3 separate regions of the Homo sapiens genome follow, and regions 2 and 3 are each linked to region 1. Evidence: promoter capture Hi-C in human tissues and cell types (Jung and others, 2019). All regions are on one chromosome and are shown on one strand. The core of a region is centred on a gene start or on the middle of the fragment in contact, and the rest is flanking DNA. Distances in the headings are between cores, read along the strand shown. Region 1 holds the start of C9orf152 (chromosome 9 open reading frame 152). Region 2 overlaps PALM2AKAP2 (PALM2 and AKAP2 fusion). Region 3 has its middle 35 kb from the start of MUSK.

Evidence for each region. The method cuts DNA at HindIII sites, captures the fragments that hold promoters and counts their contacts. A contact is called where the count stands out against the background at its distance.
Region 2: a fragment that was not itself captured here is called in contact with the fragment with the promoter of C9orf152 in region 1 in 1 of the 25 tissues and cell types used here (aorta).
Region 3: a fragment that was not itself captured here is called in contact with the fragment with the promoter of C9orf152 in region 1 in 3 of the 25 tissues and cell types used here (dorsolateral prefrontal cortex, lymphoblastoid cells and spleen).

What each region holds. Positions count from the first base shown.
Region 1 is chr9:110,206,724-110,209,686 of GRCh38, forward strand. It overlaps C9orf152 (chromosome 9 open reading frame 152), which reads right to left and starts at 1,436. Exons shown (of 2, transcript NM_001012993.3): 1 at 664-1,436. The coding sequence starts at 856. RefSeq lists enhancers at 105-605, 606-1,106. The HindIII fragment of the contact is 9,571 bases long and covers 1-2,963 here.
Region 2 is chr9:109,828,988-109,831,959 of GRCh38, forward strand. All of the region lies in intron 1 of PALM2AKAP2 (PALM2 and AKAP2 fusion), which reads left to right. Among named protein-coding and RNA genes, the nearest start is that of PALM2AKAP2, 50 kb to the left of the region's middle. RefSeq lists an enhancer at 1,392-1,561. The HindIII fragment of the contact is 7,612 bases long and covers 1-2,972 here.
Region 3 is chr9:110,632,096-110,635,051 of GRCh38, forward strand. No RefSeq gene overlaps it. Among named protein-coding and RNA genes, the nearest start is that of MUSK, 35 kb to the right of the region's middle. The HindIII fragment of the contact is 6,286 bases long and covers 1-2,956 here.

The sequences.
Region 1 (2,963 bases), core at 186-2,685:
TTTGACCTTTCAGGGTATCTTCCCTTCTCCCTCAACCTGTTCCTCTGTTAGAGGAGGAAGGGCTGGGATTTGACATGCCCTTGCTTTCTGAGCCCTGTGCCTCTAACTCCCTCCTGGAATGAAATCTGAGTTCCTAAAGGGAGGAGGTTTCTCCCCATGAGGGGGTTTCTGTGTCCAATCACACCTCCCTGCCTGATGTTTGAGGCTGGATGAGCCTGGGATGCCTCATGGGTCTCTGAGCCCTAGGCGTCCTCTGGCCCAGACAGTTCCCAGGCTGTTGGGAACGCCATGTCTTCTACCTCCAGAGTGAATTTCTCTGGTTTGTAGGAGGTGCCTTAGTTAGACCCAGCCAGGAAGCAGAGCTCCTATCGCCATACCTGGGCTAGCAGGGGGGCCAAGCCTGGCTCACCAGGCTGACCAGTCTAGCAAGATTAGAACATCAGAGCAGAGGCCAGGAACAGTGCTGGCAGCCAGGTGCTTGGCTGAGGCCCCTGGCTCCCTTAGCAGGTGGGACAGCTGAGCAGAGCTGCCCTGAGCCCGCCTCCCCTGCTCTTCCCCACTGGGAGGGAGGGCTGGCAAAGCCCTGGCTCTGCCTCCCTGCAGCTCTGCCACTCAGGTCTCCCATGGTAAGTCTCTCCTTCCCCAGCACCTGTCCATTCCTACCTTTTGGAAGCACCAGGAGGTGGGCCTGGGTCCTCTGCTGCCTCTTCAAGCCTTCATACTGGGCTCGCAGGAACTGGATGCTGAGTGGGGGCCCTTTCCCAGGGGCCTGAGTCCTGGAGCCCTCAGCCATTAAGTGAGACCTAAGCTGCCAGAAGTGGGGCAGGGCTGGGCACGGGCAGGGCAACCCCTCCATCCGGATCCGGGAGAAAAGCAAACACAGCTGGGTGGGGCAGGACCTGGGGAGGGGAGAGAGAGGGAGGGGGCAGTGAGGGAGAAGGAGAAGTGACGGGCAAAAGGAGGGTGGAAAGAGGAGTGGGACTGAGGAAGGAGATAGAAAAATAAGGGGGAAGGAGAAAGATGAAGGGGAAGAGGAGGTAGGGATAGGGAGAAATGTGGGGGAGGAGAAAGGTGGGAGACAGTGGCAGTAAGAGGAGAAGGAAATGTCAGAGGAAAGAAGGGGCAGCGAAGGGGGAAAGACTGGAGGAAGGAGGTGATAGTGACAAGCGGGGATTAATGGGGCGAGAGAAGAAAGAGAGGGAGGAAGATGGAGACAGGCAGGAGGAGGCAGGGAAAGGAGTGATGGGGAGTGGGAGACCGAGAAGTAAGGGGAGGACTGGGGGAGCAAAGAGAAAGGCAAGCCCAGCTGCTCAGAGCCCTTCAGGGGGGTCAAGAAGGTGTCTTATTCCAGGTCCTTCCATTGCTTGATCCTAAAGTTTAGAATCCAATTCCCAGTGCCACGGTGAAGTCTCCCCTTTCCTGGCAGAGCTGGGACTGGGGCTGGGGAGTGCTAAGCTCGCGCTCTGCTCACACATTTTGGACTGGAACGTGGCCACTTTTCAGCAAACCTGCCGGTTGGGTTTGCAGTAGTTCAAAGAACACCCTCGGGAGCTTCACAAGGTCGGTGCCTCTGGATGTGTGCCCCGCGGCCACACCCTAAAGAAACCCAGTAGCAAAGATCTCCCCAAGATCTCCACTCAGACCCCAACACACACCCCAGGTGAAAATTCAGCCCTAAAGTCAGCCATGGGACAGAGCCCAGGGGAATCTTGGCCTCGGGCCAGCCCTACCCCTTGGACATTTGGTGCAGCCTCTGCCGTCTCAGCATTCTCCAACCAAGTGGTAAGTTAGGCATCCCCTCACTCTCTGCTTGCCAGCCTCAACATTTCCACATTGCTTTTGAATCCCAGACCCTCTCCCTCTTACACCAGCTTTGACCTAGCCTTGCTGCATTTGGTCAACTAAGTCCCTTTCTATCTTCTCCTATCACGGTGCTTACTGATTACCCAATTACCCAATATGTCTACAGAGGCAATGGAAACAGAGTAGAGCCTGAACCTACAAGACATTTTGGACATTAACCAGACAAGATCTAGTCATTTGATGTGGGGGAGCCGTGGAAGATGGAGAGCAAATCTTCACTGGGTAGTATATGTTAGTTTTGCTAGGGCTGCCATAACGAAATCCCACAAACTGGATGTCTTAAACAACAAACATTATTGTCTCAGAGTTCTGGAGGTTAGAAGTCCAAAGTCAAGGTGTGAGCAGGGTTGGTTTCTTCTTGGAGCTGTGTGAGAGTATCTGTTCCATGCCTCTCACCTTGCTTCTGATGGTTTGCTAGCAATCTCTGGTATTCTTTGGCTTGCAAAAACATTGCCTAATCTCTGCCTTTATCTTGACATGATGTTCTTCCTTTTTATTTTTTTATTTTATTTTTTTTTTGAGAGGGAGTCTCACTCTGTCGCCCAGGCTGGAGTGCAGTGGCGTAATCTCAGCTCACTGCAAGCTCTGCCTCCCGGGTTCGCATCATTCTCCTGCCTCAGCCTCCCGAGTAGCTGGGACTACAGGCACCCGCCACCGCGCCCAGCTAATTTTTTGTATTTTTCGTAGAGACAGGGTTTCACCGTGGTCTCGATCTCCTGACCTTGTGATCCGCCCGCCTTGGCCTCCCAAAGTGCTGGGATTACAGGCGTGAGCCACCACACCCGGCCTAATATGATGTTCTTCCTATGTGGGTGTCTCTGTGCCCAATTTTCCCCTTTTTATAAGTACAGCAATCACATTGGATTAGAGCTCAATCTGTCTCAAAAAAATACCGAGAGAGATAGCCAAAGCTTCCTCATACCTTTTTATCGGTAGATCACTCTATCATGAAGGCAAGAGCAACCCATCCATGCTGGACCAGCTGCACCTGCCATGAAATCATGGCAGTAGACATCATGGCAGTAGGCTGGCCACAATGGCTCACAACTGTAATCCCAGCACTTTGGGAGGCTGAGGTGGGTGTATTGATTGTGCCCTGG
Region 2 (2,972 bases), core at 119-2,618, 380 kb before region 1:
TGTGAGGTGAGGCAGAGGAAATATGATTCATGTTATAGTGCTTTAGTTATTGATTACATAGGAGTTTGCTTTCTCCAGCTCTTGTTCATAGCTGCTAACTGGCATACAGAGGAAATATTGTTTACTTATTTAAATAATTTTTAAGATAGTGAAAATTCTGTATGTTTGGTTAAATTATACTTGGTTGTTTGCATAGGCTGTCTCTCCCTGAGACGCTCACCTCACTTCTCTATGGGTCAGCGAAACACATACCCTGTGTAATCACCTCCCCTATAAAACCCCATGGCAACCTCTTCCAACAATTCATCCTTTGCATTCCATCCAAGTATGTCTTGTTATATCCATAGCATTTAGTGCATTTATTATTTCCTCTCCTGCTTTCCTCTACTAGATTTTGAGAGCCTTAAGGACTAGAGAGTGACTGATTCATCCTTGTTTCCCCAGCACCCTGGAGCAAAGAGCCCAGCACATAGTAGTTGCTTGTGGTGAATGTAATTCAGGGTGTCTTAGGACTATCCTGCTCATTATGAATAGAGGATAAAAACAGATTTCTAAGTTCTCCATCTGCCATAAAATTCTGGGAAGAAAAAATATGAAGTATTCCTTTCTGCACACACAGAAGTCTTCCATTTTGCAATTTTCTATCTAGTCTGCTGTCCTTTCTCTCTCTTCTTTATCAGGGCTACACATCCTCTCTCCTGGCCAGAGCGTCATTTGAGGCGTGCTTATGCAGTTCTCATTGTCTTCAATTAAGGTTTGGGACTGAGATTACCAGCTTGGCTTGGTAACCCTGTTCACTTATTAAAAAATCAGTCGATCCTTCATTTTTATGAAAAGATGCAATGCAAAATAACCTTGATTTAGAATTTAATGAGGCTGACATTTAACCTGAGTTCAGTTAGGAAGACAAACAAAAAACACAGACAAAGTTGAGAGAAGGAAAATAATTACCTACTTGAATAGTGTGGGCAATTCTCCATCCATATGCCCCAGGAGAATATGAGGTGGGAGATGCATGAATTACCTGAAATTTCTTTTAGCCTCTGTTTATGATTTTAGTCTTTCAAGATGCAGGTATGTTTTTCAGGCCTTGTGGTCCCCAAACACAAGGAAACTTTCTTTATCTGATGGTCAAAAGAAGTGACGACCTAGTCCTTAGTAGGAGAAAAATGTGCCTGCATGGACTCTTTGTGAGACAGTGTTGTTGGATACTTTATGAACATTTTAAGGGATTCTCATGAGTAATTTTGATTATAGACGATTTTTACTTTATGCATTGACTAGGAACCAAATGCAACTTTCTTAGAGAGACACAAAATTCATTGTCCAAATAGACCATAGGGTCAGCAGGCTTTGTAAACATGTTTTGTATGTGCCTAGGGGTTGAGAGCAGGGGCGGGAGAGGTTCTGGTCCGTTCATCAAACCAGGGGCTGGTGTTAATGTTTGATCAACAAAACACATGTAGGCCTAGGCTCTGATCTAGGTCCAACTGCCAACATAGCCTTTTCATGCCTGCCTTTCCTACTTCAGGTAGAGAGAGGAGAAAAAACCTATTGAGGAAAAAAGAAAGAATAATATTAGCCCAAGCAGTGGTTCTACTCACTTAAGGAGAATGGAGTATGTTTATTTAATTTTAACTGAAAAGTCCTGGCCAATATTTCTAAGCCTGGCTTGGGATAACAGAATGAATGGCCTTGGGGGAGAGGGAGGAGAAAGAAGATGACTGATTTTAGTGTCTGCTTTATGGTGTGTGCTGTTTAATCCTCATGACAATCCTAAGTGGAAGGAAGAACTCCCCATGTTACCAGTGACGCAGCGGAAGCCCAGGTGCTACTGAAGGTCACGCAGTCAGCATTGACGAAGTCTACACTAGAATCCAGGCCTGACACAACCCAAAGTCTGTATTTTTTCCCTCTGCAGTCTCTTAAAATTGGCAAAAGGTAAACCTTCATGCGACCCTAGATTTGATTGGAACAGCAGATTTAGGGGTCATGCAACAGGAGAATGAGTGGATTATAAGTTTTTGAGTCCCCAGATCTTTGGGGAGAAAACCCAATTCTGTTGAAGTAGGAGCTGTTCAATTGGAGGTGAGATTTTTAGTAGGGATTTCTAATGCATTCTTTTTTCCCATTGATGGTTGTTAATACTTCCCCTACACACACACACACACACACACACACACACACACACACACAAGCATAAATAGGGCACACGTATTCTCCCATGTAAGGGCTGCTGTCCCTTCTCCCTCCCACTTATAGCGATGTGTGCCTCTCTGTAGCTGAAGGTTGCCTTGTATTAGGACACTGACTGATGAGTACTCCCCACCAGGGTCCGGAGAGTGTGCTTCATTCACCTTTCAGCCTCTCACAGTTCTGGCACAGGGGAGATAAAGATGTTGATGGTTTGAGGTGCTTTTTGGTAAATAACATAGGCAAACACTTGACACCCCTAGGCTACCACCTGTCCTGTTGTGTGGATACCTATTCAGTGAAGCCAGATAACTTTTACAAATCACAATGAATACATCCTCAGCAGAGCCAGTTGCCTGAGGGAGGTTACTGAATCTTCTGGGAGTCGTTTGCAGGCCTTTAGACACTGGGCTCCTTTCTGGACCATGCCCAAACTAGTGACAGATGCAGTCAGAGTAGCAGAATAAGGAAGTCTAAAGTCACCCAAGCCTCTTAGTTCTTGATAATTGACATGTCCAGCATTTCTTGACCATCAGTAGAAAATACTAAACTTTACAGTACATAAAATAATCAATTCATTCCTCTGATGGGGCAACTATTTAAGTCAGTATGGAACTCTATCTTTCTGATTGCTGCATTAGTCCCTTTTTTTTTGTTTATTTTGCTTCTTAGTAGAAAAGAAAAATCTAAAAGATTCTCATTTTAAGTGACTTGAGCTATCAGTTAAATTTTAAAAGCCAATTATTTTGAAGCAGTAGAGCCTTACGAATTCTAAAGTC
Region 3 (2,956 bases), core at 10-2,509, 430 kb after region 1:
GGAAAAAAATCTACTTGATTGTAGCATATTGTTTTCTTAATGTGTTTGATTCTGTTTATTAATATTTTATTTAGAAACTTTGCATCAATATTGATAAATAATATTAGTATCTTTAATTTCATACTTTCTTTACTAGATTTAGGTATCAGGTTTAGGCAATGGAAAACATATAGAGGCTGGTCTATGAAAATCTGGTAGAACTTTCTGGCAATTGTTTATTGGTTCTGTCTTTATCACTTTTTCTATTTCTTCATGGAAATTAATCTGTTTAAGCTTTGTATGTCTCATAGGTAATTTTTGTAACCTGTATTTCTGCGTAGGTAGAATCGTGTCCCTCCCACCCTGTCCCCAGGTCCATAAAAAAAGATACGTTCAAGTCCTAAACTTCAGCGCCTGTGAATGTGACTTTACTTGTAAAGGCTTTTTGCAAATGTATTAGGTGGTACAAAAGTAATTGCGATTTTTGCATTGTTGAAATTTGCTGTTTGATACTGGAATACATTCTTAAATTTGATTATGTTAGACATCATTTTAACGCACATTTCTCACTTTATGTTTTTTGCTAATGACTTACTACTTGCTGTTTATTTTATATGTATTTTAGACTATGGAAATGATGTCAGACAAAAAACAAATTTGATCGATTTTCTTAATTGAGTTCAAAATGTTTAAGCAGCCGAAACAACTCGCAACGTCAACAATGCATTTGGCCCAGGAACTGCTAACAAACCTACAGTGCAGTGGTGGTTCAAGACGTTTTGCAAAAAAGACAAGAGGCTTGAAGATGAGGAGCATAGTGGCTAACCATCAAAAGTTGACAAAAACCAATTGAGAGCAATTATCGAAGCTTATCCTCTTACCAATACACAAGAGGTTGCTGAAGAACTCAACGTCGACCATTCTGTGGTTGCTCAGCATTTGCAGCAAATTGGAAAGGTGAAAAAGCTCAGTAAGTGGGTACCTCATGAGCTGAGCGAAAAATTTTTAAAAACCCTCATTTTTGAAGTGTACTCTTCTCATTCTACATCACAACAATGAACCATTTTTCAATCAAATCGTGACATGCAATGAAAAATGGATTTTATATCACAATTGGTGACGACCAGTTCAGTGGATGGGCTGAAAAGAAGTTCCAAAGCACTTCCCAAAGCCAAACTTGCACCGAAAAAAAGGTCATGGGCCCTGTTGGTGGTCTGCTGCGGGTCTGATTCACTACAGCTTTCTGAATGCTGGCAAAACCATTACATCTGAGAAGTATGCTCAGCAAATCGATGAGATGCACCAAACACGGGCAGCCAGCATTGGTCAACAGAAAGGGCTCAATTCTCCACAACAATGCCCAACCATTTATCGCATAACCAACACTTCGAAGTTTTGCCTCATCCACTATTCACTTTACCTCTCACCAACCGACTACCCTTTTTCAAGCACCTTGACAACTTTTTGCAGGGAAAACACTTCCACAACCAGCAGGATGCAGAAATTCCTTTCCAAGAGTTCATCGAATCCTGAAACATGAATTTTTATGTTATAGGTATAAACAAATTTATTTCTCGTTGGCAAAAATGTGTTGATTGTAATGGTTCCTGTTTTGATTAATAAATATGTGTTTGTGCCTAGTTATAATGATTTAAAATTCATAATCCAAAACTGTGATTATTTTTGCACCAACCTTTTGTATTTCCCTTTTGCCCATTCTGCAAAAATCATTTAATGTAAGGCTTTTAAATTCCCAGTTGAACCTTTATTTGTTGCTAATAATTTTTAGTTCTTGGCTTTGTGATAAGAGAATATGTAATATTTCTAGTTCATGTTACTGACTTTTTGTATGTGTAACATGATCTCAAAGTCAATTTTTGTGACTTCCATTTACACTTCAGTAGGTGCACTCTCCATTAACAGAGTTTAAAGTTTTGTATAGCCTTAAAATCTACCCCATTTATTATGTTGTTTAGGTCTTTTATCTTATTTATTTTTTGTCAACTTAATCTGTCTTATGTGGAGAATACTGAGCTAAAGTTATAATGAGTGTATTTCCACTTATGTCTTCTTGCATTGTTGTAGTTTTTGCTTCAGTGAGGGAATTCTGTTATTTAGTGCATAGATATTCATAAATATAACTTTATTGTGAATTATGGTTCATTCTAGCATTAAGAAGTGAATTATGGTTCATTCTAACATAAAGAAGTGTCATTTTTATACCTTTAATGCTTATAAAATTGAATTTTTCTTTGTCTAATGTCAGAATTGCTACACCTGCCTCCCTGACAGATTCCATTTGCCTGGTATGCCTTTGTCTATCTCTTTATTTTTATCCTTTGAGTCACTTATTTTAGAGACGTCTCTTGTGTGTCCGTATAGTTGGTTCTTGTTTTGTGAGTCAAATTGGAAGTCTTTTCCTATTAATATATGGGTCAAGTCCATTCACGTTTATTAGTAAGTGTGATTGTCTAGTCTCACAACTACATATTATTTGTCATAATTATGCATTTTATGTTATAATTGCTGAGTTTTTCCTTTACTATATTTTTTTTGCTGTTTTACCTTTACAATTTCTTTGGCTATTTAGAAAGTTCTAGTGATCATCTTTATCTTAATGCCTTTTTAATGAAATTGATAGATAAAATTGTATGTGTTTATTATGTACAACGTGATGTTTTGAAATATATAAACATTGCAGAATGGTTAAATCTAGATAATTAACATATGCACTAACTCACAAAGTTATCCTTTTTGTGGTGAGAACATTTAAAATATACTCTGTTAGCATTTTTCAAGAATACAATATATTGTTATTAACTATAGTCACAATACATCATGATCTCACTTATGTGTGGAATCCATCTTTATAGATTTTTAAATATCATTAGTTCTCTGTTTCCATATTTAACCTTTTACTTACCACTTTGTTAGTTTTTACTGGTATCCATTAGCTTTCACTTGTTCCCTATATTAA